Linked DNA regions of Homo sapiens: regions 1 and 2 are each linked to region 3. Evidence: promoter capture Hi-C in 16 types of primary human blood cells and fetal thymus (Javierre and others, 2016). All regions are on one chromosome and are shown on one strand. Each heading gives the region's core, a stretch centred on a gene start or on the middle of the fragment in contact. The rest is flanking DNA. Distances are from core to core; before and after follow the strand shown. Region 1 overlaps USP25 (ubiquitin specific peptidase 25). Region 2 overlaps LOC105369302 (a long non-coding RNA gene). Region 3 holds the start of SAMSN1-AS1 (SAMSN1 antisense RNA 1).

Region 1 (2,700 bases), core at 60-2,559, 1.2 Mb before region 3:
ATTCACAGCAAGTGTATCCTGCTCTACATTAAATCACACAACCTGTTCAGTTCAACATGGAAATATCGGCATTTACTGAGCTATAGCTTAAGAAAAAAAAATTAAAAAAAAAAACACACTTGAGAGCATATCTGTTACAGTTTTACAATAAAAAGACCAAAAATACCACTCACTCTACAATAATGGTTATTAATTAGGTATCAAGTCAGAAATGCAGTATAGTTGACAACAGAAATAAAATTTACTTCCAAAAGCTTAACATATTACAATATCCTGAAATACATATACCGATTTCCTTAGTTGAAGCCACAAATGCCAAATTAGCTTCTGCAAAACACTGCCATCTGTCAAATTAAGCTAACCTTTTTATTCTGAATTTCTCCAGTTTTGTAGTTTTGGTTACCTTTAAGTTAGTAGTTGGTTTTTCATCTTATTACATAAGAGCTACCCAACAGAACATAATAAATGTATGCCTAGTTTATATTTAAACAAGTTTCAGTAAAACCATAATAAAAATATTTTAATTTGGCTGAGCACAGTGGCTCATGCCTGTAATGCCAATGCTTTGGAAGGCCAAAGTGAAAGGTTTGCTTAACACCAGGAATTCAAGACCAGCCTGGGAAACAGAGCGAGACCCCATCTCTACAAAAAAAAAAAAAAAAAAAAAAAAAACTAAAAAGTAGCTGGGTGGATGGTACACACCTGTAGTCCCAGCTACTTGGGAGGCTGAGGAGGGAGGATAGTGTGGGTCCAGGAGTTTGAGGCTGAAGCAGGCTATGATTATGCCACTGCACTCCAGCCTGGGCAAGAGAGCAAGACTCTGTCTCAAAAATATATTTTTTAATTCAAGGGCGAAAGTTCCTGACACCTGTTTTTCTTTACAATGGTCCCAACTGAAGAATTTAAAAAGTATACATACTGTTGTCAGGCAGAGTATTAATGGGAAGGAGGAACTGTTCAATAAAGTCGCTGGTTCTCCAGAGGGGAAAAATTCTGACATCTACTCAAACAACATGCAAAAATCAAACCCAAGTGGAATGAAACTTAAACCCTGCATGAAGACAAATTAAGAAAACACTTAGAGGGCAATAAATGAGACTATCTTTGTGAAACAGGACATGGAAGTTCAAATATTAAAGGAAGCTAATTATACATGAAACTAAATTAAAAATAAAAATGTCTACTCATGAAAGTACATAAAGAGAATAAAAAGACATCGTGAAAACAGAAAATATTTGCAAAACATATACAGTAGTTTCCCCTTATCTCGTTTCACTTTTTGAAGTTTCAGTTACCAATGATCAAGCGTAGTCCAAAAATATGAAAAGTTCCAGAAACGATGTTTTAAATTGTGCACTATTCTGACTGAGTGCTGTGCATAATGAAATCTCACTCCATGCCACCCACAACATGAATCTTCCCTTTGTCCAACATATCCACACTGTGTATACTACCCACTTAGTAGTCAGCAGCCATCTCAGTTATCGGATATTTTGAAAAAGACTACATTCACACAACATTATATTATCATAGTTGTTCTATTTCATTACTAGTTATTGTTGTTAGTCTCTACTAATTTATAAATTACCTAATTTATAAATTAAACTTTATCACAGGTAGATACTATATATAGGAAAAAAACTATATGTACTATATAGTTATATAGTGCCTAATTTATAAATTAAACTTTATCACAGGTATATATAGATAAGAAAAAACTATATATACTATATTCTATATAGTACTGAACCATACTATATATGGTATACTATTTCAAATATTTTGAAAACATATACAGTATGTTATGTGAATGTAGTCTCTTTCAAAATATACTCTATAAATGGTTCAATACTAGCCACAGTTTCAGGCATCCACTGGGGGTCTTGGAACACATTCCATGAGAGTAAACGTGGACTATTGTAAATAGAAAAACAAAAGTAGTATCTAAACCATAAAGAACTACCTCAAATCATAAAGAAAAAGATAAATAGCCCAAAAGAAAAAACAGGCAAGAGAAACAAATGTCAATTTCACAGAAAAGAATCACAGTGGACCATAAATATATAAAAAGATATATAAACAAATAGTTTAACTGTAGAATGGTTAAGCTGTAGTATATCTAGAAGTATAAATTAACAATAACACATTTTTAACAAAATAAGAAGTGCAACAACTAAAACCATACTTAGTAGTAAAAGACTGCTTTCCATACAAAATCGGGAACAAGACAAAGATGTCTGTCATTACCACTTCTATTAAACATTTTAGAGAATACCCCAAAAAGCACAATTTTTAAAATGAATAAAAGTGGTAAATACATTTATTAGAATAAGTGAATTTCGCAAAGTCGCAGATACAAGCTTCATACAGAAAAATCAACCACATTCTATATACCAGCAAAAAACAATTGGAATAAAAACTAAAAACCACTGGCAGGGTGCAGTGGCTCACAACTGTAATCCCAGCACTTTGGGAGGCCGAGGCTGGTGGATCATGCTGTCCAGAGATCAAGACTATCCTGGCTATAACACAGTGAAACTCCATCTCTACTAAAAATACAAAAAATTAGCCGGGTGTGGTGGCACACACCTGTAGTCCCAGCTACTAGGGAGGCTGAGGCAGGAGAATCGCTTGAACCTGGGAGGCGGCGGTTGCAGTGAAAGTGAGACTGCGTCTCAAAAAAAATAAAAATAAAAATAA
Region 2 (2,700 bases), core at 75-2,574, 1.0 Mb before region 3:
ATCTAGTAACCCCACTATGTGTTTCTCTATGCAAAGGTTAATGTTACAGGTCTTTACAATTTTAAAACCTTTGGCCAGGCACAGTGGCTCACGCCTATAATCCCAGCACTTTGGGAGGCTGAGGTGGGTGGATCACTTGAGGTCAGGCCAACACAGTGAAACCTCATCTCTAATAAAAATACAAAAATTAGCCAGGTGTGGTGGGACACGATTGTAATCCCAGCTACTCCGGAGGGTGAGGCATGAGAATCGCTTGAACTGGGGAGACAGAGATTGCAGTGAGCCGAGATCGCATCACTGCACTCCAGCCTGGGTGACAGAGCAAGACTCTTGTCTCAAATAAATAAATGAATATGATAAATAAAAAAAACTATCCAAACTTATAGATTATCTTAAATCTTCAACAGCTTTCTTTAAGCTTCCGTTCTCTGGGTAAGATATTAATGGCTATTGAGATGACAAGACTAGTCAGCCTAAGGAATTAGAAAACACACAGAGGATTAATCCTCTAAATGGAAACACAGTCACTTAATGACCTATGTTTTAAAAGATTATGAGAAATAAACTTCAAAGTGATGCCTACGGATTTTTCCCAGGGGGGTTAAGAGAATTAAATTATGGATTAAAGAAAGCAAAAATACAAACAAATTGTGTTGACTGGTGGATCAATGTTGACCTAACAGGTGATGTTATAAGTCCCGGTAAAAAATACTAACAGTAGCAATGTGAACAATGTTCTGTGTGCTTACTCTTCAATATATAAATGGAATTTCCATGGATTAGAATTTGAGTGTTCAATAGTAGAAAAATAGATAGCATAAATCTGTAAATAGGCCGGGCGTGGTGGCTCACGCTTGTAATCCTAGCACTCCAGGAGGCCAAGGTGGGGTGGACCACATGAGGTCAGGAGTGTGAGACCAGCCTGGCCAACATGGTGAAACTCCATCTCTACACAAAAAGTAGCCGGGTGTGGTGGCGCACACCTGAATTCTCAGGTACTCAAGAAGCTGAGGCACAAGAATTGCTTAAACCCAAGAGGCGGAGGTTGCAGTGAGCCAAGATCCCAAGATCGCATCACTACACTCCAGCCTGAGGGACAGAGTGAGACTCTGTCTCAAGAAAAATAAATAAATAAAATCTGTAAATAGATTCCCATTTACAGAAGAAGATGTATGCCCAAGAGAGGATTCATTTTCTTGGGCATATATCTTCTTGGGAATACTGGTGCTCTGTTACCTACTCATTCTCCATATCAGTCTTTGTTTTTAAAGAGAGCAATATAGTTAGAAATGCTGAAAAATGTAGCCATCATACTGTCAAACTGATTACCAATGGAGAGACTGAGGCTTTGAGAGACTGGATTTTTCCAGGCTGCACATGTTGTTAGTGGCACTACTCGCCTAATTCCTAATCCAATACTTTGATTTCTCACATCCTGCCTCACAGAAGAGGAAAAATCCACAGTTAGATTCTAGTCTTTTTCACTTCAGCTTTTAACTAATTGCTATGCCTCCTTTTACATAGCAGACTGAAGAGTTGCTGATTATAAAAAGCAAGCAGACCATAAAATGAAAACCCTACTTATAAATCCAAATTAATGGCACATCTTTATTGGACAGTTTTAGGGACCTGGAGGGATTCCTGGTCTTTCTATTTCTTATTGATCTAGGAAACAAGGGTATAAACAACCTAAAAGACTTCAAAAATGCTATTTTAGCTGCTGCTGATCTTGAAAGCCAAAATGAGAGAATAGTGGAATAACAGCCCAATCTAGGGGTAACCTGGGTGAAAAGCCAAACACTTAACTGAATTGGTTGTCCTTTCAATCTTGCCTTTCATTCCCAGGGTGGTAGAAAGGTATTCAGATGTCTCCATTATGTTGCTTAATCTTGCTGGCCAAAAAGGCTGAGGGTTCTCATTAATTTAATGGGAAGCTGCTAAGTCCTTACCATTCTCACTATGGAATGCACCATGGTCAGCACTATCTGTCATTCCCAATTTATTATTGTCTGATAGCTAACATGCTGCTGCACTTGACCATCTTAGGGAATCCATTCTCTCTTCGTACACTTTGGATAGAGTTATTTCAATATAAAAACAGCACATTTTAAATGTCAAATAATAAACAAACATGTTAATGATTTTTTAAATAATTGTTTTCTTTGAGAAAAAGAATTTGTTGGAACATAATCCATATGACATTAGAATGTAGTTGAGACACTAAGCTTTCTTTTTTAAAGTTGTGAGCAGCTGGGAACAGTGACTCATGCCTGCTATCCCAGCACCTTGGGAGGCTGAGGCAGGCAGATCACTTGAGCCCAGGAGTTCGAGACCAGCCTAGGCCACATTGTGAGACCAAATCTCTACTAAAAATACAGAAATCAGCCAGGCATGGTGGCAGGCACCCATAGCCCCAGCTATTGAGGAGGCTGAGAAGTGAGAGGATTGCTTGAGCCCAGGAGGTCACAGCGGCAGTGAGCCATGATTGTGTCATGGCAACTCAGCCTGAGTGACAGTGTGAGACCCTATCTCAAAAATAATAAAATAAAATAAAATTAAAAAGTGTGGGCAATGTCCCTAATTTGCAGTTTATGGATTAAATGTTAATTTAAAGAATACTTACAACATATACCTATTCTCTTAGAGATTCCATTATAACTCAAACTAAAATATTCTATGTAACTAGATGGTTAACCTCAG
Region 3 (2,700 bases), core at 78-2,577:
ATTGCCAAGTTATTTTAAAACAGACATCCCCATCTGTTCCTGAATTTTACCCCGTATTTATGCACCGCCCCGTTTCTCCTTGCCTTCAAGACCGGGCTCCGAGACACAGTGAGAGAGAGCAATGGAGGAAGCTCAGCAGTGTCCACTGTCGCCATTCCTTGGCCATAGAAAACAATGTATTTGAATTTTGATGTAAGCATAACAAATTGGTATGTCCATGGCATGCAACTTTGATTTTCATTTATTTATTTATAATAGCATGCCTTAAGTAATCGAACTCTTTTAAAAATACCCATTAAACGTTTGGATTTAAAGGGATTCCATGACATAGAGCAATTGACTCTGGGTGATATATATTTCTATTTTCTGTAACTGTTTTCTACATTACTAGAAATTTCATCAGAGTCTTTGCCACATTGTGTAAATATAGATCTCACAAATGAACTTTATGGTATTACAGATATGGCTTTTTTAAATTTTTGTCGTTCTTGTTTTTTGAAAACCATTTCACTGTGAGACACACTGCATCCATACATCTCTTGGTAGATTGATATTAAAATAGACAATTTCAGAATGTCAGTAGGATTTCAGTCCAAACCACTGAGATTTTATTCTTTTAAGTAGGGCAAATAATTTTATTTATTTCCTTATAATTCTTTATTATACACATGACCTTAAAAATTAAAAAAATATTTAAGAATAGAAACATAAGAGGTGGGTTTTTTAATTGTATTTTTTTCTCAAATATCTTTCAGCATATTATTTGTATGTGGCCTCCATTCTTTCCAGTGAGATAGAATTTAATCAATTGTTATGGTTTCAAAAATGTCAGAAAAATGCGACTTTTACAAAACAAAAAATTTTATATAGCAAAATAACTTGCTTTTTAAATAAATGCTGCTGTAAATAATTTTATAAAATTGAATGACTTCTTGGTTTATCCATTGCAGTGTATTTATTTCTCTTATATAAATGGAAGAATAATTCCTATATGTGAAGAATTATAATCATAGTTTTTAACCTATTTCTTTGTCATTCAGAAGATGAAGATGACACGTTGATTTCTTGTTTGAAATTAACCAAGTCCCGAGAAAAGAAAGTGAATAGTGTTAGCACGAGGAGGAAGGAAGAAATGGAGATTAGATTGGATACTCTTTCTGCATCACTGGGTAGATCCAGCACTTTAAATAACTGCAACTTGGAAGATAAATTAGCTTGGTATGAAGGTGAAGCTTACATGTGGCATCACTGGAAGCCTTTTCCTGAAAACCCTCTCTGGACATGTCTTGATTTCCAAATAGCACAAGTTGGACCCTGGGACCACTGCTCCTCTTGTATTCGCCACACACGTCTCAAGTCTTCCTGCTCAGATATGGATCTCCTACATTCATGGGTAAGTTTGCAGACTACGGAAATGTGTCATCTTATCTGGGGTTTTGTACTGTCGGGAAAGAAACAGATAGCAAAAGTGCTAATCAGTGAAATTTATCAGTTTCAGAAAAGTTACCAGAGCAAGAGTTGTCTTTCCAAAAAGCAACCAAACTCTTGTGACTTTTACCCATATTAACATTTCATATATTCCTTTGTGTACAAATTAATGACTGCATAAAATTTTTCCAGGGATTTCTTTTTGATTGAAGGAAGACTTCGTGTGTTGACTGAGATCAAGAAAATGTGAAGTGAACTGTCTAAATTATTGCAATTATAATGAAATTTCACTGAAAAATAATAGCTAATTTTAATGAGCATTTTATTTGGGCCTGCCATTTTCCTAAGCATTTTATATGTATTATCTCATTTAAATCTCACATCAACTCTATAAGGTAAGGACTTACATTATGAAATATTACCTTAAGAAATATTATTTTTGGCCAGGCACGGTGGCTCATGCCTGTAATCCCAGCACTTTTGGGAGGCCGAGGCGGGAGGATCATGAGGTCAGGAGATCGAGACCATCCTGGCTAACAAGGTGAAACCCCGTCTCTACTAAAAATACAAAAAAATTAGCCGGGCGTGGTGGCGGGCACCTGTAGTTCCAGCTACTCGGGAGGCTGAGGCGGAAGAATGGCGTGAACCCAGGAGGTGGAGCTTGCAGTGAGCCGAGATCGCGCCACTGCCCTCCAGCCTGGGCGACTGAGCAAGACTCGTCCTCAAAAAAAAAAAAAAAAAAAAAAAAAAAAAAAAGAAATATTATTTCCCCTCATTTTACAGTTGAGAAAATGGAGGCACAAAAAGTTGGTAACAGGTGCAAAGTCAGACAGCTAACAGGAGGTAGAGCCAAGACCTATAACCTAGGTCTTGCTTTTAGCTAGAGCTCCTGCTTTTAGCTACTACATTAGAGTGTTTTCCATATACGAGGGCAGACTCTAAGGCTATTATGTGATACGTGAGAAAGAGTATGCTCTCTGGAGTCAAACAAATTTGGATGGATTCTGGCTGTGCTACTTTTTTTTTGGGCTTGGATAAGTTATTTAAACCTTTTAATCTTAACTTTCTTAACTAAAAAATGGAAATAGTCAAGAAGCTAAAGTCAAATATTATAAATCTTCTAGTACTTAAGAGTGGTACTTTTTTTTCAATTTCCTTGTAAATTGCTCAAGGCATGTTTTATAACTTTACCTACAGCTCCTCTGGTCATGTGTGTTTTCAGTGAATGAATGGGACAATTCTGTGTATCCAGGGAGCCTACTCTCTACCATT

What was found. The method cuts DNA at HindIII sites, captures the fragments that hold promoters and counts their contacts. A CHiCAGO score of 5 or more calls a contact.
Region 1: a fragment that was not itself captured here is called in contact with the fragment with the promoter of SAMSN1-AS1 in region 3 in 2 of 17 cell types (total CD4 T cells and activated CD4 T cells); the score reaches 6.2 in total CD4 T cells.
Region 2: a fragment that was not itself captured here is called in contact with the fragment with the promoter of SAMSN1-AS1 in region 3 in 4 of 17 cell types (M2 macrophages, M0 macrophages, naive CD8 T cells and 1 more); the score reaches 7.6 in M2 macrophages.

Annotation. Positions count from the first base shown.
Region 1 is chr21:15,746,427-15,749,126 of GRCh38, reverse strand. The region is part of intron 1 of USP25 (ubiquitin specific peptidase 25); the gene reads right to left. Among named protein-coding and RNA genes, the nearest start is that of USP25, 18 kb to the right of the region's middle. The HindIII fragment of the contact is 2,106 bases long and covers 257-2,362 here.
Region 2 is chr21:15,588,557-15,591,256 of GRCh38, reverse strand. The region is part of intron 1 of LOC105369302 (a long non-coding RNA gene); the gene reads left to right. Among named protein-coding and RNA genes, the nearest start is that of USP25, 140 kb to the left of the region's middle. The HindIII fragment of the contact is 1,807 bases long and covers 421-2,227 here.
Region 3 is chr21:14,580,829-14,583,528 of GRCh38, reverse strand. It overlaps SAMSN1-AS1 (SAMSN1 antisense RNA 1), which reads right to left and starts at 1,327. Exons shown (of 5, transcript NR_046512.2): 1 at 1,238-1,327. It also overlaps a transcript of SAMSN1 not described here. The HindIII fragment of the contact is 2,204 bases long and covers 1,235-2,700 here.